7 separate regions of the Homo sapiens genome follow, and regions 1, 2, 4, 5, 6 and 7 are each linked to region 3. Evidence: promoter capture Hi-C in human tissues and cell types (Jung and others, 2019). All regions are on one chromosome and are shown on one strand. The core of a region is centred on a gene start or on the middle of the fragment in contact, and the rest is flanking DNA. Distances in the headings are between cores, read along the strand shown.

What was found. Contacts are between HindIII fragments. The study calls those that stand out against the background at their distance.
Region 1: the fragment with the promoter of LSM7 here is called in contact with the fragment with the promoter of ZNF77 in region 3 in 3 of the 25 tissues and cell types used here (dorsolateral prefrontal cortex, lymphoblastoid cells and mesenchymal stem cells).
Region 2: a contact is called between the fragment with the promoter of TJP3 here and the fragment with the promoter of ZNF77 in region 3, in 2 of the 25 tissues and cell types used here (lymphoblastoid cells and mesenchymal stem cells).
Region 4: a contact is called between the fragment with the promoter of LINGO3 here and the fragment with the promoter of ZNF77 in region 3, in 3 of the 25 tissues and cell types used here (heart left ventricle, liver and lymphoblastoid cells).
Region 5: the fragment with the promoter of GIPC3 here is called in contact with the fragment with the promoter of ZNF77 in region 3 in 1 of the 25 tissues and cell types used here (dorsolateral prefrontal cortex).
Region 6: the fragment with the promoter of APBA3 here is called in contact with the fragment with the promoter of ZNF77 in region 3 in 1 of the 25 tissues and cell types used here (dorsolateral prefrontal cortex).
Region 7: a contact is called between the fragment with the promoter of ATCAY here and the fragment with the promoter of ZNF77 in region 3, in 3 of the 25 tissues and cell types used here (bladder, lymphoblastoid cells and mesenchymal stem cells).

The regions. Positions count from the first base shown.
Region 1 is chr19:2,327,226-2,330,255 of GRCh38, reverse strand. LSM7 (LSM7 homolog, U6 small nuclear RNA and mRNA degradation associated) reads left to right here and starts at 1,670. Exons shown (of 4, transcript NM_016199.3): 1 at 1,670-1,695; 2 at 1,779-1,869. The coding sequence starts at 1,690. SPPL2B (signal peptide peptidase like 2B) reads right to left here and starts at 1,572. Exons shown (of 15, transcript NM_152988.3): 1 at 1,481-1,572. The coding sequence starts at 1,546. RefSeq lists silencers at 1,286-1,545, 2,566-2,665 and enhancers at 1,756-1,805, 1,816-1,865, 1,301-1,955, 2,236-2,295. The HindIII fragment of the contact is 22,122 bases long and covers 1-3,030 here.
Region 2 is chr19:3,706,849-3,709,872 of GRCh38, reverse strand. TJP3 (tight junction protein 3) reads right to left here and starts at 1,489. Exons shown (of 21, transcript NM_001267560.2): 1 at 1,312-1,489. RefSeq lists enhancers at 719-1,380, 1,381-2,044. The HindIII fragment of the contact is 5,666 bases long and covers 502-3,024 here.
Region 3 is chr19:2,943,437-2,946,438 of GRCh38, reverse strand. It overlaps ZNF77 (zinc finger protein 77), which reads left to right and starts at 1,468. Exons shown (of 4, transcript NM_021217.3): 1 at 1,468-1,601. The coding sequence starts at 1,599. RefSeq lists an enhancer at 1,073-1,232 and silencers at 1,303-1,552, 1,693-1,772. The HindIII fragment of the contact is 6,632 bases long and covers 1-3,002 here.
Region 4 is chr19:2,306,221-2,309,607 of GRCh38, reverse strand. LINGO3 (leucine rich repeat and Ig domain containing 3) reads left to right here and starts at 1,454. Exons shown (of 2, transcript NM_001101391.3): 1 at 1,454-1,532. The HindIII fragment of the contact is 18,961 bases long and covers 1-3,387 here.
Region 5 is chr19:3,583,542-3,586,839 of GRCh38, reverse strand. GIPC3 (GIPC PDZ domain containing family member 3) reads right to left here and starts at 1,362. Exons shown (of 6, transcript NM_133261.3): 1 at 1,018-1,362; 2 at 160-345; 3 at 1-26. The coding sequence starts at 1,242. The HindIII fragment of the contact is 10,668 bases long and covers 1-3,298 here.
Region 6 is chr19:3,760,011-3,763,155 of GRCh38, reverse strand. APBA3 (amyloid beta precursor protein binding family A member 3) reads left to right here and starts at 1,464. Exons shown (of 11, transcript NM_004886.4): 1 at 1,464-1,620; 2 at 2,855-3,145. The coding sequence starts at 2,892. It overlaps MRPL54 (mitochondrial ribosomal protein L54), which reads right to left and starts at 474. Exons shown (of 3, transcript NM_172251.3): 1 at 338-474. The coding sequence starts at 455. It overlaps LOC105372248 (a long non-coding RNA gene), which reads left to right and starts at 516. Exons shown (of 3, transcript XR_936268.1): 1 at 516-598; 2 at 950-1,007; 3 at 1,302-1,402. RefSeq lists an enhancer at 111-600 and a silencer at 1,262-1,579. The HindIII fragment of the contact is 13,428 bases long and covers 1-3,145 here.
Region 7 is chr19:3,878,727-3,882,080 of GRCh38, reverse strand. ATCAY (ATCAY kinesin light chain interacting caytaxin) reads right to left here and starts at 1,396. Exons shown (of 13, transcript NM_033064.5): 1 at 1,073-1,396. RefSeq lists an enhancer at 1,191-1,721. The HindIII fragment of the contact is 15,458 bases long and covers 1-3,354 here.

The DNA.
Region 1 (3,030 bases), core at 421-2,920, 620 kb after region 3:
TGCACCTGTAATCCCAGCTATTCGGGAGGCTGAGGTGGGAGAATTGCTTGAACCGGGAGGCAGAGGTTGCAGTGAGCCTAGATCATGCCACTGCACTCCAGCCTGGGCGACAGAGCGAGACTCCGTCTCAAAAAAAAAAAATAGATCTGCTTCGGAAAAGCCTTCCCAGGCAAACTGAGTCCCTCTCTCCACAGAGTTCTGTGATCTTTCTTCCACCTCTGGCTTTCCCCCTCCTTCCAAATGTCTGGGGAGCTCTAGGTGCCTGGCTGCAGAATGGGGGGAGTCCAAAGGGGGCTGACAGAGCAGCTGGGGGTAGGACTGGGGTTCTCAGAAAGCTTCCGAGGGGGCCCGACAGCCTTGCAGAGACCAGGGGCATCTCAGGGTAAGAGAAAAGACTAGAGAGTGAAGCGACTGCAATGAGCTGCAGGCTTCCCCAGCAGCCAGGTCACAACTGGACGGCGCACTCATCTGGATGCGACACGGTCTGACATACTTTGAAAGGGTCACCCCTGCTGTGTCGAGGATGGACTGGGGATGTGGTGGACAAAGGCAGCCACAGCAGAGGGATAGCGGTGGGGCTGGAGGAGTGGAGACTGAGGAGCCAGGTGGCGGCGACGCCTTAAGAGTGAGAACTCTGAGGGGGTAGTGAAGGTTAAGGGCTGCATTTGTGGGGCTGCTCCAGGTTCCATTGCCTGAGCCACCGAACTCAGGAGAGAGGGAAGATTTGGAATTAAGAAAATAAAAGATGCAGTTATGACAGTGCGATCTCGTAGACTGTCCCCACTAGAACCTGACACTCTTTACATCAAATGACACACAATGAACATAATGAAGGCCTGTTGGCCCTGGGCGCTGGTCACCCTGGACAGAACCTCCAGAATCCACACCATAGTCGGTCCTCCTTCTGCACACGAATTCCATCGTCCAAGGTCACGGAGTAAAAGATGGAGCGGGGATCCGACCCCAGTGCAGGGCTGGACTCCTGGCCGCTCCAGGATGCTGCCAGTTACTGGGGGACGCGCGGGACGCCTCTGGGTTCCCCCACCGCACCCCCTAGGGTGAGGTTAGCTTAGCACCGTGCCCGTTCCGCCTAAGGGGAAACTGAGGCTCGGAGAGGGGTGGGCAGCCGCCTGCTCAAGGCCACAGAGCCGGAGAGAGGCGTCCCCGGCGGCAACTGGAGACCCCGAAACGGAGAAGCAGAACCGGAGGATGGAGGGGGCACAAATTTCAGACCCGGTGGGAAGTGAGTGGCGCTGCAGCGGCGGAGGGCCTCCGAGGCGGGGAAAGGAGAGGAGCCGGGGACAGACCCGCAAGGTCACGGCCGAGCCCCGGCACCGCCGGCCGACAACGCGGGGACGGCGGATCCCCGAGGCTGGACCCCCAAGACGGGCCGAGCGGGGTCGTTCCTGCGCGTAGCCCGGGGACAGAGAGGCCGAAGGGCCGCAGCCCGCGGTGCCGTCGGGACCGGTGCCGCGCTCACCTGGGCCGCGAGGAGCAGAAAGGCCGCCAAAAGCCGCGCCAGCGCAGCCGCCACCGCTGCCGCCATGTCGGCCGGTGCCCGCCGCAACCAACGGCAGATGTTTCCCAGCAACGCCCCGAGACCCCGGGCCACGCATGCGCCGCGCATGCGCGTGGGGGAGGTCAAAGGGCGCGGGGCGGTGCCTGCGAAGAGCCACACGGCGCGACAAGATGGCGGTGAGCGCGCGGCGGAATCTGGAGCCGGGGGGCGTGGAGCTCGGGCCGCGCTCCAGGTCTCATGCGCTCTGCTTTCCCCGCAGGATAAGGAGAAGAAGAAAAAGGAGAGCATCTTGGACTTGTCCAAGTACATCGACAAGACGATCCGGGTAAAGTTCCAGGGAGGCCGCGAAGGTGAGGAGGCTCCCGCTGTCGGTACCCCCTCTTTAAAAATTTCAAATAAACCCAGCAACAGAGATGATGAGGACGCATGCGGAAGCACCTCTTTTATTTATTTTCATTATTTTTTTTGAGACGCAGTCTCGCTCTGTCACCCGGGCTGGAGTGCAGTGGTGCGATCTCAGCTCACTGCAACCTCCGCCTCCCAGGTTCAAGTGATTCTTGTGCCTCAGCCTCCCGAGTAGCTGGAATTAATGTGTACCACCACGCCCGGCTAATATTTGTATTTTTAGTAGAGAGGCCATGTTGGCCAGGATGGTCTCAAACTCCTGGCCTCAAGCGATCTGCCTGCCTCAGCCCCCTAAATTGCTGGGATTTCAGGCATGAGCCACCATGCCCAGCCTAGCATTTTTGACTGGGCAAGTGAGCTGCCTTCTCCTAGCCTCCGTTTCCTCATTTGTCAAATGGGGCTGGTAACTCCACCCACTTCACAGGGGGTGGTGAGAATGAATGGTTACAGGCATGTAATGTAATTGAGGCAGCTCTCAGCAGGAAGTAAGCAGTCAGACAACACGTCACTTATTCAATAGCCTCTTGGATCTTTGGTTTCTTTTTTTTGTAAGACGGGGACCCAAACCTCTTTGTCCCTGGATTGTAGACAACTGGGTGGCATGAGAGTTATTAAAAATCACAGTGCCCCAGCCGGACGGGGCGGCTCACGTGTGTAATCCCAGCAATTTGGGAGTCTGAAGCAGGAGGGTGGCTTCACCCTAGGGTTTGAGGCTGCAGTGAGCTATGACCGCACCACTGCACTCCAGCCTGGGCCACAGAGCAAGGCCCAGTCTCAAAAGAGAAAAAGGAGGCCAGGCACAGTGGCTCATGCCTTTAATCTTGACACTTTGGGAGGCCGAGGCAGGCAGATCAGGAGGTCAGGAGATCAAGACCATCCTGGCCTACGTGGTGAAACCCTGTCTCTACTAAAATACAAAAAGTTAGCTGGGCATGGTGGCGCACGCTTGTAGTCCCAGCTACTCGGGGGGCTGAGGCAGGAGAATTGCTTGAACCCCAGAGGCGAGATTGTGCCACCGCACTCCAGCCTGGCGATAGGGCAAGACTCCGTCTCAAAACAAAAAGAAAAAGGAATATGAATAAAATGTTTTCTCAGTCTACACCATG
Region 2 (3,024 bases), core at 240-2,739, 760 kb before region 3:
CGGCCCTCAATATCCCCATTTTACAGAGCAGGAAACAGAGGCCCGGAGAGAAGGGAGGTGTGGAAGCCAGATCTAACTGAGTCCACGGGTTTGCTCTCAAAACCCAGGCAAGGTGGGATCCATGTCGCCCACCCCCACGGACTCCCGAATCTCAAGCAAGCCTGCTCCCTGGGAGCTCTGCAGCCACACAGCCACAAGGTGACCCCAAATGCCGGGCCGCTCTGTCCCCCACTATGCGATCATCCATGCCTCCTCGGCCCCGGGGGACCCTCTTGGTTCTGGAGAGAGACTTGAGATGCAATCGGACACTTGGCTCACGAGGAAGCTCCCTTGGTCTTCCCATTTGGGAGCAAATGACCCAGAAAAACACTTTTGCTGCCGACCCCTCCCCTCTCTGGCTCTGAGCGCTCCTTCCTCCTTCCCCTCTGCCCCATCCCACAGAGATTTTGCTCGGAGGAGTAAAGATTAGAAAAAGAAGTCTGGGCGCAGTGGCTTGCGCCTGTAATCCCAGCACTTTGGGAGGCCGAGGGGGTTGGATCACCTGAGGTCAGGAGTTCGAGACCAGCCTGGCCAACATGGTGAAACCCCATCTCTACTAAAAATACAAAAATTAGCTGGGCATAGTGGTGGGCGCTTGTAATCCCAGCTACTCGGGAGGCAGAGGTGGAGGCAGAGGTTGCAGTGAGCCAAGATCGCACCACTGCACTCCAGCCTGGGCAACAAGAGCAAAACTCCGTCTCAAAAAAAAAATTAGCAAAAGAAAGGCCACCCCAATCCCTCCCTGCAAAGCTCCTGGAGGTTCCAGCGGTGAGAACAGGGTGAGGGGTTGGGGGGCGGGAGACGCAGTTGTTTCAAAACTTGGGAGCCTTTTAAGAAGTTCCAGGAGGCTCAGAGATGAGTGAGGTCGCAGCCTTTCCCACCTGTCACCTCCTAGCCTCGGGCTGCAGGAGGTAAACCCAGGCTCCGTCTGGACTGATATCCCCTCCCCTCCTCAGTTAGGGGGATCAGAGACCAACCTGTGCCCCTTTGCCGCCTCCCCGGTCCCTGCGCCACCTAGGTAACAATGACCCTTTTAAGTTTCCAGCTCAGCGTCCTGGGCAGGCCGCCAGGTGCAGTAACTGCCGGTCAGATAATCCCTACGAAACTATGTCAGATGCCCACGCAGGAGTGTCAGTTTCCTGCTTTCCGAGGAGCCGGGGAGACAGCTCGTGGTGGGGGAGGTTGGGGGGGAGTCTAAGGACCCTCAGCTGGGGAAGGCCAGCTCAGACAATGCACACTGGGTGGAAAAGCACAGTGGGGCGGGGGACTTACCTGTCTAGGAGGCTGGGTGGCCTCTGGGCAGGCAGCAGGTGCCAGGGCCCGGGTGCCTGCCTGGCACGGGTGGTGGGGAGGGAACCCGAGGCTTGTAGCTCTGGCCTCCCCACCTGTTTGACCAACTTTTCCTCTCTTGTGGTGGCAACAGGGAGGCAGGTCCCCTGCCAGTGGAACTGACGACCACAGACACAGGGAGACGGACCAGGGTGAGGGGCGGGCCAGCAGGAGGACTGGGTGTGTGGCTCTGTCGCAAGGTGCCCTCACGTGGGAGCAACTGGCCTTAACCCCTGCTTGCCCAGAGGTGAGCTTGCTCCTGCCTGTGCCCTCACCGCCGAGGCCCTGGTATCAAGCGTCCGCACATGGTAGGTGCTTAGGAAACCCTCGTTGGCTACATTCAGACATGAATGGACCGCACTCCCGGAGTCCCCCTCCCTCCTGCTTCTTGCATCTGGAGCTGCCCAGTCTCTGTGCTTGCTGAGCCTCCTGCCAGGCACGCCGGCCCATCAGGCTGTGGCTTGGCGCACTCCCTTCCCCACGCAGATCTGTGCGCAGTCTGCCTCTCTGCTACGAAGTGACTGGGTTCCTACGTACAGAAGCTTCTGCCACTTCCCCGCTGTGTGGCTTTGGGCAAATTACAGGGGCTTCTTGCTGTCCTCATCTAAAAAACAAGAAAGGGTCAGGTGTGGTGGCTCACACCTGTAATTCCAGCACTTTGGGAGGCCGAGGTGGGAGGATCACTTGAGCCTGGGAATTTGAGACCAGCCTGGGTAACACGGTGAAACCCATCTCTAGAAAAATTTTTATATATCTTTTGTTTGTTGTTTGTTTTGAGATGGAGTCTCCCTCTGTCACCCAGGCTGGAGTGCAGTGGCGCGATCTCGGCTCACTGCAACCTCCGCCTCCTGGGTTCAAGTGATTCTTCTGCCTCAGCCTCCCAAGTAGCTGGGATTACAGGCGTGCACCACCACGCCCAGCTAATTTTTTTTTTTTTTTTCAGTAGAGACGGGGTTTTCCTATGTTGGCCAGGCTGGTCTCAAACTCCTGACCTCAAGTGATCTGCCCGCCTCGGCCTCCCAAAGTGTTGGGATTACAGGCGTGAGCCACCGAGCCTGGCCTAGAAAAGTTTTTTTGTTGTTGCTGCTGGCTGTTGTTGGTTTTGTTTTGTTTTTTGTTTTTATTTTATTTTTTTTTTATTTTTTTGAGACAGAGTCTTGCTATGTTGCCCAGGCTGGAGTGCAATGGCTTGATCTCGGCCCACTGCAACCTTTGCCTCCCGGTTTCAAGTGATTCTCCTGCCTCAGCCTCCCGAGTAGCTGGGATTGCATTACAGGCACCAGCCATCATGCCCAGCTAATTTTTGTATTTTTGTAGAGACGGAGTTTCACCATATTGGCCAAGCTGGTCTTGAACTCCTGGCCTCAGGTGATCCGCCTGCCTTGGCCTCTCAAAGTGCTGAGATTACAGGCGTGAGCCACCACGCCCAGCCCAGAAAACTTTTTTAAAAATTAGCCAGATGTGGTGGTACACACCTGTAGTCCCAGAAACTCAGGAGGCTGAGGTGGGAGGATCAATTGACCCTGGGAGGTTGAGGCTGCAGAGAGCTATGACTGTGCCACTGCACTCCAACCTGGGTGACAGAGCAAGATCCTATCTCAATAAAATAAAATTAACCAGGAAGGGTTGGGCATGATGGCTCACACCTATAATCTC
Region 3 (3,002 bases), core at 219-2,718:
TTACATACAAACATAATTGTCGTAATTCATGTTTTTACTGTGTCGACCTAAATAACAGGCTGTCTAAAAACGGTGGTAACAGTTCATTGCAGTGGGAATATGCGCGGCATAGCAAACTATGTGCTTATTCAGGGAGGTAAAGGAAGACAAAGGTTGTTTTTGGTTTTCATTTTTTTGAGACGGGGGTCTCTGTTGCCCAGGCTGGAGTACAATGGTGAGATCACAGCTCACTGCAGCCTCAATCCCCACGGGCTCGAGCGATCCTCCTGCTTCAGCCTATCAAGTCGTTGGGACCATAGGCGCACACTCCTTTATTCCCAGCTAATTTTTGTATTTTTTGTATATATGGGGTTTTGCCATGTTGCCCAGACTGGGACAAAGGTTTATAAAGGAAAAAAAAAATTTTAAATGAGGATTACATCATTTTTCAGAAATAATTATCCTTGTCTACAAAGATCAGTAACAAGGGTCACACCAGTCTGAGTGTCCCTGTAAAAGTATTTTTTGTTTAAGCCTGTGGTTTTTGTAGAGTCTTTTTCGTTATTAAGCATATAAATGTGAGACCTCTCTCTTCATGACCTTACGTGGTTCTGTTTGTGGGAGGGCTGCTTTTTTTTTTTTTGAGACTCAGTTTCGCTCTTGTTGCCCAGGCTGGAGTGCAGTGTCCTGATCTTGGCTCACTGCAATCTCCGCCTCCTGGGTTCAAGCGATTCTCCTGCCTCAGCCTCCGGAGTAGCTGGGATTACAGGCGCCCGCCACCGTGCCCAGCTAATTTTTGTATTTTTAGGAGAGAAGTGGTTTTCGCCATTTTGGTCAGGCTGGACTTGAACTCCTGACCTCTGATGATCCGCCGGTCTCCGCCTCTCACGGTGCTGGGATTACCGGCGTGAACCACCGCGCCCGGCCGAGAGTTTTAAGAACACAGGGAGCGCCTGGTGGGGTCCGGCCTCCTGGGGCCTCGTCGTCTGGTCTCCAGATCTCCAGGTCTCTGGACCCCAGGCGTCCGCGCCCACGCGGGACAGCACGGTGACGTCACGCACGCGGGTCCCGCCCCCACGCAGGACTCCGCCCCATGGGACTCCGTGCCCTTCCTCTCCTCCCCGCACGAGGGGCCGCTCCGAGGGGAAACTGAGTCTGGAGTTGCCGTGCAGTCAGGGAGGAGGACGCCGCGCCCTCCCTGGACTGGAGTGAGTTCTCCCAGATCCGCGGCTGCCCGGCTAGAGGGTCAGCCACGCGTGTTCTCGACGAGCCCGTCACTGAGGAGAGAATTATCCAATCAGGACAGGCAGGGGCGGGGCCTAGGGAACTGTCCAATCAGAGACGTTAATCCGAAGCGGAGCCCTGCCCAATCAAGGGCGCTAGGGGGACGGACTGGAGAATTCTCCAATCAGGGGTGCGGAGTCGACAGCACTGTCCAATCAGAGTCTCCACTTCCCGAGATCTGTCCAATCAGACCCCGAGGACGGTAAGCCGAGTTCCCCTCTGCCTTGCGCGCTTCCCCGCCTACCCCGAGCGGCTCAGGTGTCCTGTCGTGCTCACCTGCGCCGGTCGCTGGACCGCGGGGCGCTAACCCTGGAGAGCCCAGGAGCGGGCGGGACATGGTGAGTGCCGGGCGGGAGCCGAGCCCGGGCCCAGGGCGAGGTGGGGCGGCAGGAACCGGCTTCCGCCCGAGTTCGCAGCCGGAGAAAGCTGAGGGACGCGCGGGGCGGCGCACGACGAGCGCCTGGGCCCCGGGGACGTGGTCACAGCGGCCGAGGGGTAGGGCTGGGGGCAGTCTGGGGTGACAGCAAAAGCGGTCAGGGGCTCGAGGGGTAGTTTCTGGGGACAGTACAGGTCAGGAGTTTGGGGAGAGCTTGTGGGGACAGCAGAGGTGGTCAGGGGCTTGAGGCAATTTAAGTGGACAGTAGAGGTTTAAGGGGCACAGGGGCAGTTTGCGGGAACAGACACGGTCAGGGGCTCGGCGGCAGTTTGGGGGTTCAGTGGAAGGGAGTCAGGCTCAAGGGCAGATTAGGGGGCCAATAGCAGCGGTCAGGAACTCGGGGACAGTTTGAGGGGGCCGTAGAGGCGGTCATGGGTTTGAAGGGGCAGTTTTGGGGGACAGGTGATCAGGGGCTCGAAGGCAGTTTAGGGGGACAGTAGCTGCAGTCGGGAGTTTGGGGGCAGCTCGAGGGGACAGCAGAAGCAGTCAGGGGCTCAGGGGCACTTTAAGGGGGGCAGTAGAGGCGATCAGGGGCTTGAGGGAAGTTTGGGGGGACAGTAAAGGGAGTCGGGCTCGAGGGATGTGTTGGGGGACAGTAGAGGCAGTCAGGGGATCGGGGAGAGTGGGAGGAGAGGGCAGGAGCCGTCAGGGGCTTGGTGGTCAGTTTGGGAAGGTCTGCCAAGGAGGAGGTGGTGCCCTGTCCTGGAGCCTGTCAAATAATAAAATCCTGGGCCGGGCGCGGTGGCTCACGCCTGTAATCCCAGCACTTTGGGAGGCCGAGGCGGGCGGATCACCTGAGGTCAGGAGTTCCAGACCAGCCTGGACAACATGGCGAAATCCCGTCTCTACTAAAAATACAAAAATTAGCCCGGCGTGGTGGCGGGCGCCTGCAATCCCAGCTACCAGGGAGGCTGAGACAGGAGAATGGCGTGAACCTGGGAGGTGGAGCTTGCAGTGAGCCGACATGGCGCCGCTGCACTCCAGCCTGGCGACAGAGAAAGACTCCGTCTCAAAAACAAAAACCAAAAAAAAAAAAAAAAAAAAAAATCCTGGCTAGAGAAGGAGAGAGAAAAATAGGGATAAGCCCCAGCCTCCGAAACCTGCCAGGTCTCAAAATCAACCAGGAAAAGGCTTTACTTTCATACACAAGAAAAGGTTTGGAGGAACGTTTTAGGGGACAAGCAGAAAGGAGGTTGACAGTAAATGTACCTCCTCGTGGTCAGCTAGCTCAGGGGAGGTGACAGGGGACTCCACACTTACTGCTTGCTCAGACTCGGGGGGGCCAAAGTTCAGGGGCCTGCGG
Region 4 (3,387 bases), core at 205-2,704, 640 kb after region 3:
CACTTTGGGAGGCCGAGGCGGGTGGATCACCTGAGGTCAGGAGTTCGAGACCAGCCTGGCCAACATGGTGAAACTCTATCTCCCCTAAAAATACAAAAATTAGCCAGGCATGGTCATGGGCGCCTGTAATCCCAGCTACTTGGGAGACTGAGACAGGAGAATCGCCTGAACCCGGGAGGTGGAAGTTGCAGTGAGCCAAGATTGCACCACTGCACTCCAGAATGGGTGACGAGAGCAAAACTCCATTTCAAAAAAAAAAAAAAAAAAAAAAGACAAAAAAAAAGGTAAAAAACTTTCCATGAGCACTCGCAGTGCACTTGGTGTGTGCGCTGCTGTGTGCTAGGCGGAAGGCACATTGGGGAACAAGCCCATTAGACAAACTGAGAGGCTCCAAGCTGCTCGATGGAGGGACAGAGAGAAAGGCTGTCCAAGCTGGGCACAGCGAAGATCAAAGGCCTGGGACTGGAGGGACTTGGCCTGTTTGAGGAAGGCTGAGGGGGTGGAGCCCGGGAAAGAGTGAGTGAGGACAGGCCAGGGGGAAGGAGGTGGTGCGGCAGACCAAACAGTGCAGGCAGCCGGGCGGTGGCTCACACCTGTCATCCCAGCACTTTGGGAGGCCGAGGTGGGTGGATCACCCGAGGTCAGGGGTTTGAGACCAGCCTGGCCAACATGCTGAAAATCCGTCTCTAATAAAAATACAAAAATTAGCCGGGCGTGGTGGCGGGTGCCTGTAATCCCAGCTACTTGGGAGGCTGAGGCAGGAGAATCGCTTGAACCCAGGAGGCGGAGGTTGCAGTGAGCCAAGATGGCACCGCTGTACTCCAGCCTGGGCAACAGAGCAAGACTCCATCTCAAAAAAAAAAAGAAAGAAAGAAAGAAAGAAAGAACGAAAGAAAGAGAAATTCCAGGGTAGGTGGGGTGCAGACGGGACCCTCACGGCAATAGGGAATCACGGCAGGTTCTGGAGCCCAGTGGCTAAGCTTCCTCTGAGGGGCTTCCTCTGAGGGCCACATAAGGAATGGGCCTGGGCTGGGCTGTGGCAGATGTCCAGGTGCAGATGGTGGCGGCCTGGACTAGGGGTGGGGGACGGGGGGCAGAGGAGGCGATGGTAGCTTCCAGAAGGTTCCACACGGAACAACCTGCTGCACTTGGGGTGCCCCTGCGTTTATTGCACGGCACGGCCGTCTCCGCAGGCTCACCCAGGCCGTGGGGACAGGAGGTCCTCGGACACGAAGCGCCCGGGATGCGCACGGAGGGGTTCTGCACCCGCGCTCCCAGTGTCCCCGCACCTGCGCCCACGTGGCCTCTCACACCTGCGGCCCCAGCCGCCGCGCACGCGGCCCAGCGCAGCCCCCGCGCGCCCCCGCCAGGCGCGCCGAGGAGACCGGCGGGCGGTTGCGCGCGGCGGCGGCGCGCACGGCGGAGCCCGGGAGGCGGCGGCGGCGGCGGCGGCGGCGGCGGCGGCTGCTCGTGTCGGCTCCGGGCGGCCCCCGCGCCGCAGCCCGCGCCGTGTCCGCGGCGGAGCCGCCCAGGTGAGTGGCCGTGCCGGGGCCCGGCGTGGGGCGCGCCCGCAGACCTGGGGACCCCTCACCTGCACCCTGCGACCCTGCCGCCCAAAGCCCCCAACCCGCGACCCCATCCTCAGCCGGGGGAAATTGCCCCGCGCACCCCTCCCGGGCTCATCGCTCCTTGCCAGGCCCCCGACGCTCCCCCTGGAAACTTTGGGGGCGAACTCCCCACCCTGGGGCCCCCCGCCCCTCCTCTGGGGCGCCAAGGAGCGGGGAATCGGGTGGGCATCTCCCCGGGGCACTGGGGACGCTGGGAGGATGCGCTCCTCTCCAGGAGGAGATGAAGGGGGCACTGGTTGGGTCTGGGGTGTGGGGAACGTCCGAATAGAGCCTGCAGCCCGCGCCTTCCTGCCCTGTCTCCCCCGAGCCGGGTCTGGTCCAGCCTGGGGGTGCGGAGCTGGAAGACGCAAAGGGTATCTGGGGTCCACACCGGAGCCTGCTCCATCGCTGGAGCTGACGGCCCGGCCTGGCGGGGAGGGACCTGGGGGCATAGGGCTGAGTCCCCCTGCTCTGGGGGCGTCTGAATAGCACCAGAAATGGTGGGCCTGGGCACCCTGAGTGGGTGCCGCCACCTCCCGGGCCTCTGGGGCCTGGCCAGGGGAGGCCCTGAGTCCCATTCAACAAGTTTAGGGGAGCAGCACCTCGTGCCTTGGTCCGGGCACAAGAAAAGCCCCGGGTCCTTACGCTGGAGACCACCATGTAACTGGGTTTCTCAACGTGTGCTTGGGGCGCTAACGGTGCCGGTGTCCCGGCCCCCCCAGTTCTGAGGAGTCAGAACTTCTGAGGCGATGTGCCCCAGAAGCTGCATTTTAGCAAGCGGTCCCTGGCTAAACCATGGACGCAGCGAGGCTGCAGACACCCTTGCTCCGGCGGGGGTGGGGAGCGGGCGTCTGCTGTGCAGTGGTATTTGCAGAGGGACGATCTGGGGCTTGGCTGGGGGGAGCCTTCAGGGACAACAGAGCTGTGAGAACCAGAGCAACCCAGGAGGGCTCCCTGGAAGTGGCCTGGAGAGGATGCAGAAGGTGTGAGGTGTGAGTGGTCAGGTGGAGGACGCAGGCTGGAAACAGGTTCAGGGAGGGTGGTGCTGGCTTTATCAGGAGGCTGGTGTGGGGTGGGCTGCCGCGGCATGGCCTTACCCTGGCTGTTCTCTGAGCCGAAGCAGCAGCCATCGTCGGAGACAGGATCTGAGTGGGAAGAACCCACGGGCTTCCCCTGTAGACCCAGCTCCTGTCCCCATCTCGATGATGTGGGGTGGCAGGAAGGGGGCAGCCGGGCGGTGGGATGGGGGCTTAGGAGGGTTCAACTCAGCCTTCCCTGCCCTGCCTGTCTGGTCTTCACCGGTGACTTCCGGCAAATGACGTCCCCTCTCTCAGATCCACCCCACATGGGATTAAATGAGATGCTGCCCACCTCGGCTGCAGTGTGGTGCCACCATAAAACAGATGCTCAGGTCACGATGGTTACGGCAGCAGCCCTGCCTGGCCTCCCTCAGCCTCAGCCGTCCACCCCCAGGGTAAGCCGGGACCTGAAGGTGCCTTGCTGAGTGGGAATAGAAGGCAGTTTGATGTCTCTTCCCACAGCACTGTCATTCCCCGGCGCCCCCTGAGTCACTACCTCGTCACCAGGTAGAGCCTCTTGAAGAACTCTGCGAGCAAAGTTGGCCCCGGGTGGGCCCCATCAAGCCGCCCACCACCACATGTCAATCTCGGGCCTCCAAAGAGCGCCCTTCACCCTCTAGTGGGGAGCTGGGATTTTGTGGGTAGGAGCTGGCGTCAGATCCAGGTTCAAATGCTGACTGTCTGCAGCTAAGTTGTGCAGT
Region 5 (3,298 bases), core at 113-2,612, 640 kb before region 3:
TTGATGATACTGCCTTCCTTGATTCTCTGCAGGGATCCAGCGTCGCTGGCAGGGCAACCCCAGCCACCCGCCTCCAATCCGCAGAACCCACGTCGACCCAGAGTGGGGGGGGCAGTTGCTGGACCCCAGGAAGCCACCCGCCCACCCCCTCCCGGGCACCTTGATGAAGGCGTAGCCAGCCCCGTTGTCCGTGATGGTCAGCCCCAGAGCATCCTCTGTCTTAGTGACCTCCACCTCCTTGGTCTCGCCTCGCACGTGGGCAAAGATGAAGTCCTCCAGGCCTATCTGACCCCCCAGGAGCTTCTGCATGTCCACTTTGTGGCTGTTGAGGGTGCAGAATAAAATCTTCCCGGGGGAGAAGGAGCCTAGAGTTAGCCAGGGCATGCATCCCCCCACGCAGCCACCCTGTCTGCGCAGGCCCCTGCCCCCAGCGACCAGGATCCCAGCCCATGGGAAAGGGCAGGGCGTGGGACCCCCAGAACAGAGAGAGGAGGGAGAAGGAGACTTCCAGCAGGTGGAGACCCCTCTCCATACCCCGGGACCTCCAGCCCCCAGACCTCCAGGTTTAATCTGCTGGCGCCCCCTGGGGGCTGCAAACCAAACGAACCCGGATTGGAAAAACGCCCAGGAACCCCCCAACCCCACGGCGGCCTCAAACTTCCCATCCCTAAGGGGGCCATCTGGAACCCCAGACCCCAGCTACGCCCAGGAAGCACAGAGGCGCTTCCCCGAGGGCTGGGGTCCGCTCCAAGCTAGGTCTGCGCAGAGGATTTTCTGGAATATCTAGGGGTCCGCTAGTCCTAAGACCTGCCCATCTTTTGCGCAGAGCGTGCAAAGGGGGCCCCTGGGAGTGTGGCACCCCGGGATCTGAGGGCTGGGTCTCTGAGATCCGGCGATTAGGCGGCCACCCCGACGTCTGGGATCCGGGGATCTGGGGTCTCCCGTCCAGGGTCCAAGCTCCCTACCCCTCACCCCATCAGGCGGGTGGTCTTGGGCGCCGGTGTCCGGGCTCCTTACCTCGGTGGGCGCGATCCCGAAGGCTTCGGCGATCTTGGCGTACAGCTCGCGGACGTTGGTGAAGCCCTCGATCTTGCCCGTGGGGCTCCCGTGCGCCAGCTGCGTGCGGAAGACGAGGCGCGGGCGGGCGCGGGGCGCGGCCGGGGGCTCCGAGGGCGCGGGCGGGGGCGCAGACGCGCGCGGGGTCTCGGTCCCCCGGGCCTCCCGGGCCGCTGCTCCCTCCATGGCGGGAGAAGTTCGGCCACCCACCCGGGCCCTCGCCGCCGCCGCCGGATCCGCCGCTTCCTGCAGCCTCCCCTCCCCCGGCCCAGGGCGCGACAGCCGAGACGCCCGGGTAAGGGGATCTGGGAACCCGAGCCTCCCGGGAAGGCGACACCGCGGGGTGCGCAGGGGTGGGTCGGGCCCCAGGTGTCCGGGCCCTGCCAGGGCCAGCTGTGCCCTCCCCGGGGATACCCGCAGTCCGGGGGGGCCTGAGCTCAGGACCCTGGAAGAACAGGGACCACAAATAAGGACAGGGACAGGCCTGGAGCGGTGGCTCACGTCTGTAATTCCAGCACTTTGGGAGGCCGAAGCGGGCAGATGACCTGAGGTCAGGAGTTCAAGACTAGCCTGGCCAACATGGTGAAACCCCGTCTCTACCAAAAATACAAAAATCAGCCGGACGTGGTGGCGGGCGCCTGTAATCCCAGCTACTCGGGAGGCTGAGATCTCTTGAACCCGGGAGGCGGAGGTGGCAGTGAGCTGAGATGGCGCCATTACACTCCAGCCTGGGCAACAAAGCGAGACTCCGTCGCAAAAAAAAAAAAAAAAAAAAAAAAAAGGACAGGGACAGCTGAGGGTGCTGGAGCACTCACCCTCTGCTAGGCGAGGTCATTGTTTTATTTTATTTTATTATTTTTATTTATTTATTTATTTTGAGCTGGAGTCTCGCTCTGTCACCCAGTTTGGAGTTCAGTGGCACGATCTCAGCTCACTGCAACCTCTGCCCACCAGGTTCAAGCAATTCTCATGCCTCGGCCTCCCCAGTAGCTGGGATTACAGGCATATACCACCATGCCCGGCTAATTTTTTTGTATTTTTAATAGAGATGAGGTTTCACCATGTTGGCCAGGATGGTCTTGAACTCCTGACCTCAGGAATCCACCCACCTTAGCCTCCAAAAAAGCTGGGATTACAGGCATGAGCCACCACGCCCAGCCTTTGGTTTGTTTGTTTGATTTTGGAGACGGAGTCTAGCTCTGTCGCCCAGGCTGGAGTGCAATGGCGTGATCTCGGCTCACTGCAACCTCCACCTCCTGGGTTCAAGCGATTCTCCTGCCTCAGCCCCCCTAGTAGCTGGGATTATAGGCGCACACCACCATGCCTGGCTAATTTTTGTATTTTTTAGTAGAGACAGGGTTTCACCATGTTGGTCAGGCTTGTCTCGAACCCCTGACCTCAGGTGATCCACCTGCCTTGGCCTCCCAAAGTGCTGGGATTACAGGCGTGAACCACCGCACCCGGCCGCATTCAGTTTTTTAAAATTTAATTTAGAAACATGATTAATTTTTTGTACAGTTGGGATCTCACTGTGTTGCCCAGGCTGGTCTCAAACTCAAGACCAGGAGGTTCAGGCCATCCTTCAGCCTTGGCCTCCCAAAGTGCTAGGATTACAGATGTGAGCCACTGTGCCCAGCTTCTCTTCAGCATTTAAAGCTACCATCTGACATATCAGATATTTTATTTTATTTTATTTTTTGAGACGGAGTCTCTCTCTCTTGCCAAGGCTGGAGTGCAGTGGCACGATCTCGGCTCACTGCAACCTCTGCCTCCCGGGTTCAAGCGATTCTTCTGCCTCAGCCTCCTGATTAGTTGGGATTACAGGCACCTGCCACCATGCCCAGCTAATTTTTTTTGTATTTTTAGTAGAGACGGGGGTTTCACCATGTTGGCCAGGATGGTCTCGAACTCCTGACCTCAAGGAATCCTCCCGCCTCAGCCTCCCAAAATGTTGGGATTACAGGCTTGAGCCCCAGCCCCCTGCTGATATTTCATTTCATCTTTTGTCCTGTTTGTCCCCAGGACTGGAGGAATGTCAGCTCCAGGAGGGTGGGGGCTGTTCCCCTGCTCTGTCCCCATGCCCAGTGTCCAGGGCACAGTGCCTGGCATACAGCAGGTGCCCAGTGATCTTTGGTGAGGAATGAACGGATGTCCAGGTCACAGATGAAGGAGGAGACCCCAGGCACCAGGAGGCGTTGGTAAAAATCCGCTGGAGTGCAATGTCAGAAACACCTACGTATCC
Region 6 (3,145 bases), core at 215-2,714, 820 kb before region 3:
CAAGTTCATGACCTCCCCAGACTCCCTTCAAATCCTTTCCAACCCGCGCCTGCGCAGTGAAACGCGTGGTCTCCACGTAACCACATCCTCCTCCCAGGCCGCTCCGCCCCAAGCTGGCGCCTGCGCCCTGGGTCCAATCGCTACAGTATCTCCGAGCCAGACGCCCGAGCTCCAAGCGGCGCTGGGTCCCTCAAACTGCGCCTGCGCATACAGCCTGGCATCCGCCTCTCTGCGCTTGCGCATCAGTTCTAGCACCACCTCCCCAACCACCGCCTGCGCACTGTCAATTCCTCAGTGCACCCACCGTCCCCATTTGGTTCCTCTTAACCCAGCTCACCTGGTTTCTTGGCATAATCCCGGGCCAGGAGTCTTCCGGAAGTGGCGGGGTTTAGGAGCTCCCAGGCCCCCCAGCCGGCCCACGTCCGGGTAGCCCCGAAAAGGCGTTTGGTCGCCATGACGTATTGCGGGCAGCTTGCAAGTGCACGTTTCCGGAAGACGTCAGTGGCCCAAGGGTGTTTGGGAGTTGTAGGCCCCGTGGAAGTGTAGGCCCCGTGGAGGTGTCTGGGAAATGCGGTCTCCCAAGCTTTCATAATCTATGGTGATTTCTTCAGACTTTTGTAGACATACACAGTTACTATAGGAGGAGGCGTTCAAGGGATATTTCATTGACTTCTTGCCCTTCTTCAATTACATAACATTTACTAAAAATATCACACTTTATATGTTCCTGATTCCATCCAATGAGTAATTATTCAAAGCTTTAAAGTTAAAAAAAGAAGATTAACAATGAGTCTAATATACTCCAGTAGGGCTGGAGTCTAATCACTGTTAATTTTTATAACATTATATTTTTAAAATTATATATAACATATATAATACATATAATATATAGTATGTTTTATATATAATATATAAATTAATAATATATATTTTATATATTCTTTTCCAGCTCTACTACTGCTAAATCCTTAACCCGCTTGATCTAATTTAATCCTCACAATTGAGAGGTAGGTACTATTTTTTCCCCAGCTTATAATGAGGAAACTGAGTTCTCAGGGAGGTAAAGTTCCCAGGCCGACCCCAAATCCATGGTGCACCTATGTGTCTCCCTACTGTGAGCCAAACCGAAAGTCCGTCTTTAACAGGGTCTCCACGACGCTTCCGGTGCCTCAAGGTCCCAAGGAAACCACCTCTCACACTTCTTTAATATTTCCCAACCCCACTTCTCCCCATCTGCCATCCTTTGGAATAATGAACACAGCCCCCAGAGCCAGGCAGTGATTATTAACCCTATTTTGCAGGAGAACAAACAGGTCCTGGGGCCAGCCGGGGCAGTCTGCGGGCCGGGAAGCCTGGGATTCGAACTCCCCTCCAACATCTGCAGTTGTCCCAGCGCCCCCGCGTGGCGAGGCTGGGTGGGAGAACTACATTTCCCAGCAGGCCTCGCGAGGCCGCGCATGCTCAATGGGCCAGGGCTCTGCGCGGATAGAGGAGCGGGCGCCGGGACCGGGAATCCCCGAGCTGCGCCTTCTGGGGACGCGGCCCGGGCTACGTCGGGGCCGTCCGTGGGGAGCGGGGTCCTGGAGGCTGCGCGGGGCTGAGGCGGCCTCGATTTGGGAAGTGAGTGTCCTCGAGGTGCAGAGCGCAGTCTGAGTCGGCGCTTGAGGTCTTCGGTCTGAGGGGGGACTAGGGTCTGGGCTTGGGGCTGGGTCCTGAAGTCGGGGTCTGAGTCTGGAGTCGATCTTGGGGTAGCATTGGAGGTTTGGAGACTGGGGTCCGCCTTATGGCGTCTTGGGTCTCTGGTATTAAGTCCAGGGTCCTGGGTCTAAAGTTCTGGATGGAGGTATTGGGGGTTGAGGTCATGGGACTGGGGTCTTGGGTCTGGGGTCTTGGGGAACTGCCTCTGACCAGTCGGTAGAGTCAGGGTGTGAGGTCTGGGTCTCCAGCCTGGGTTCCGCGTCTTGAGGGAGGAGGACCTGGAAGAACCAGGGCTGGAGTGAACAGACTCCATTAGTTGAGAGAGGTCTGGGATGACACAGGGGCTCGGGAAGCCACTGCCTCACACCTCCCCATTCTGTGGCTCAGTTTCTTCATCTGTAAAATGGGAATCCTAACTTCCTTGCAAGGGTTAGTGGGTATTAAATTATGTGCCCTGTATGAACAGTACCCAGCTAGAGCCTAGCACCGGATAGGCAGCCGGGAAACCTCAAGTTTTTTGTTTTTCGGGTTTGTTTGTTTTTTTTAAGACAGGGCCTCACTCTGTCACCCAGGCTGGAGTGCAGTGGCACAATCAAGGCTCACTGCAGCCTCTGCCTCCCCTGGTTCAGGTGATCCTCCCACCTCAGCCTCCCAAGTAGCTGGGACTACAGCCTACACCACCACCCCTAGCTAGTTTTTTTTTTTTTTTTTGGAGATAGTCTCGTCTGTCGCCCACCTTGGAGTGCAATGGCGCGATCTCAGCTCACTGCAACCTCCGCCTCCCGGGTTCAGGCGATTCTCCTGCCTCAGCCTCTTGCGTAGCTGGGATTACAGGTGCCTGCCACCACACCTGGCTAATTTTTTGTATTTTTAGTAGAGACGGAATTTCACCATGTTAGTCAGGCTGGTCTCAAACTCCTGACCCCATGATCTGCCCGCCTCGGCCTCACAAAGTGCTGGGAATTACAGGCGTGAGCCACTGTGCCCGGCCTTAATTTTTTGTATTTTTTGTAGAGAGAGGGTCTTGCTCTGTTGCCCAGGCTGATCTTGAACTCCTGGGTTCAGTCAGCCCTTCTGGGCCTCCCAAAATTCTGGGATTACAGGCATGAGCCACTGCACCCGGGCGAAACCTCAGTGCTGACTCTCTCTCTTTCAGCTGCCTGAAGATGCCGGCCTAAGCCTGGAGTCCAGGCATGGACTTCCCCACAATTTCCCGATCCCCTTCGGGGCCTCCAGCCATGGACTTGGAGGGGCCCAGGGACATTCTTGTGCCTTCGGAGGACCTCACCCCTGACAGCCAGTGGGACCCTATGCCAGGAGGCCCCGGCAGCCTCAGTCGGATGGAACTTGATGAGTCAAGCCTTCAGGAGCTGGTGCAGCAGTTTGAAGCTCTGCCAGGCGATCTGGTGGGCCCATCCCCAGGTGGAGCCCCCTGTCCCCTACACAT
Region 7 (3,354 bases), core at 147-2,646, 940 kb before region 3:
TGGCTTAGCAAGGAAGGACCCAGAGGCAGCCTCAGCCAGATGAGGAAGTGGGGGGAGGGGACGGCTAAAACTAGACCCTCCCCCGTACAGGGTGAGCGTTTCTCACTCGATTCTCTGTCCTCAATGTCGTCATTCATGCTTGGAGGAGGGACAGTAACACGCAGCATGGAAAAAAAAAAAATCCCTCCTGGATGCTATGGGGTCGGGGGGGGGGCGGTGGCAGCAGCCAGCCAGGCCCTTCCCGCGAGGGTAAGTTCTCCTCGGCAGTAGAAACGCATTTGCTCTCCGGAGGAAGGGGTCTTCGCCTCTCCCTTCCTTATACTGAGCTGGGTGTGACCTCAGCCCCCAGGAACACTCCCACCAGCCCCGCCCCCGACCCCCACCCCCTGCCAGCTGCAGCCACAGGCGTTGACTCCACAGTCTTCTAAGGATGGGGTGGGGTGGGTCCTCAGTGGGCCCCGGACACTCCTGCACTCAGATCCTGGCTTCGCATTTGGGGACGGCCAAAAGAAGACAGTGACATCAAGGAACGGGAGTGAAGCGCTCATTTGAGCCCTGATGTCTGATTATTAACAAATCACATACGAGTTCCAATAAGGAGGAGGCATCTGTGTCTTAAACCATAAACCACCCCCTTCCTCCCCACCCCACAGGACAGCCTTTATCGACACACTTAGATTTTTTTTTTTTTTTTTTCCCGAAATCGTCGGCTGGTGGCCTTCCTAGCGTTATAAATAGGAAATACATAGGGCTAGGATGGGTCTATTTCAGCGTCCCAGAGAGAAGCTGAGGTTTTCATCCGCCCGAGCTCTCAGCGTGTCCTGAAAATGGTGCACTTAGAGGGGAACGGTGCGCGCGGAAGGTAAACTGTGTTGCTGGGCGCAGCTCAGGGAACGGTTTTCCCTGGTACCGGGAACAGGGATGTGAGGGCCTTCACGGAGTCACAAGACCGTGGCTCTCTGCTCCCACCCGCCCCATCTGCTGGAAAGGGATTTAGAGGCGGCAAAGGCTGCCGGATAAACCTTCCAGGGAGACGGTTTATCCTGGGAGAAGGGGAGATGCGCGCACTCACCTCTGCAGCTGAGACAGCCTCTCCTCCTTACTGGCAAACAAAGGCGAGCCCTGCCCGGGTGCAGCTGGGCATCGCTCACGCTCCCCGGGCCTTCAGAGCCTAGGAGGAAGAGGATGCTCGCAGGGGCGGATTCTGCATCCGAGGAAGGTCACCCAGGGCGACGTGGCCAGCGCCCGCCAGCTCTTTTGTGCAGGGGTGGGTGGGGTGCAGGGTTAGCGGTGGGCTCCCCAGCGCGGGGCTGCGGCTGCGCCCCCTCTCATCGCCGCCCGCCTGCGCGCCCTGCCTCCGAGGTAGCTGCTTCTTCCCAGCTCAGGGCTGGCAGAGGCTCGGCTTCCCGAAGACGGTTAATTTATGCTGCTTTTGTGTGCAGGGAGGAGGGGGTGGGGGGTGGCGGCCTGACGGAAAAGCACAGCCCCCTGCCAGAATCCGATCCTCCCCATTGGCTGACAGACAAGCATCTCCGAAAGCCACGCCAGGGGCAGAGGCAGAAATAATTTTCTGATGGCGCATCAGAGATTTAAAAACAAAACAACGGACAAATAAATAAATAAATGGCAAGATGGCCTCATTCCTTAGAGAATGGGGGGTGGGGGAGTTGGGAAAGGTCTTCTTGGCACTTCTCCTTGCAAAGGGAGCAGGGGTGAGGGGTGGCATCCCCCAAAAAGTCTGTGCAGGCAAAGAAATGACTGTCCCCAGGTCGGATGCCATGGCTCACGCCTGTAATCCCAGCACTTTCGGAGGCCGAGGAGGGAGGATCACCTGAAGTCAGGAGTTCGATACCAGCCTGGCCAACATGGTGAAACCCCGTTTCTACTGAAAATACAAAAATTAGCCAGGCGTGGTGGCGTGCGCCTGTAATCCCAGCTACTCGGGAGGCTGAGGCAGGAGAATCGCTTGAACCTGGGAGGCGGAGGTTGCAGTGAGCCGAGATGGCGCCACTGCACTGCAGCCTGGGCGGCAGAGGGAGACTCTGTCTCAAAGAAAAAAAAAAAAAAAGAAAGAAATGACTGTCCCCAGGTCACCGTGTTGTGGGTCCATTAGATGGTCACTTACCATTGATTCAGCCTCGTGCCCTAAACAGGGCTGGGTGCAGGGGAGGCGGAAGTTTCTCAGGCACACTCACTTTGCAGGGCTGCTGTGGGAACGGCGCCCCCTGCAGTTGTGCGCTGGCGTGGCCTCGCCCTGGAGGAATTCAAGGAGACTGTGGAAGATGGTAGGGTGGAGAGTGCAGGCCGTGCAGTCGGACTGGAAGTGGGTTTGAACTCTAGCCCAGCCACTCCCCAGCTGGCAGACCAGTGGGCATGAGTGATCTCACCTGCGGGCCTCAGTTTTTCTCATCTGTGAAATGGAGCCGCTATGGCTTTTCCACATTATGAGATAATGCATAGACAGCACTAAACACAGTGCTGGGGCACAAGAAAAGCTCCCTATGTGTTTCTTTCTCTTTCTTTCTTTCTTTCTTTCTTTCTTTCTTTCTTTCTTTCTTTCTTTCTTTCTTTCTTTTTTTTTTTTTTTTAGGTGGAGTCTCGCTCTGTTGCCAGGCTGGAGTACAGTGGTGCGATCTTGGCTCACTGCAACCTCCGACTCCCAGGTTCAAGTGGTTCTCCTCCCTCAGCCTCCCAAGTAGCTGGGATTACAGGCACACACCACCACACCTGGCTAATTTTTTTTTTGTATTTTTAGTAGAGGCGGGGTTTCAACATGTTGGCCAGGCTGGTCTCGAACTCCTGACTTCAGGTGATCCGCCCACCTTGGCCTCCCAAAGTGCTGGGATTAGAGGTGCGAATCACTGTGCTCGGCCTATATGTATTTCTTGCTATTGCTGTTTTTAATGTTTATTTTATTTACTTATTTTTTTAAGAAACAGGAGTTTTCCCTGTCATCCAGGCTGGAGTGCAATGGCACAATCACAGCTCGCTGCAGTCTTGAACTCCCGGGCTCAGGTGATCCTTACACCTCTTTCTCTCCAGTGGTTGAGACTACAGGCTCCTACCACCACGCCCTGCTAATCTGTGTAATTTTTGTAGAAATAGGGTATCTCTCTATTGCCCAGGCTGGTCTTGAATTCTTGGGCTCAAGTGAGCCTCTCATCTCAGCCTCGAAAAATGTTGGGATTATAGGTGTGAGCCACCGTGCCTGACCCACAGCACTTACTATTAATTGAAATTATTTACACTTTTTTGTTGTTGTTGTTGATTCTCTGCTCCTCCTTATTAGAATATACTGGGTTTTGTTTTGTTTTGTTTTGTTTTGAGACAGAGACTTGCTCTGTTTCCCAGGCT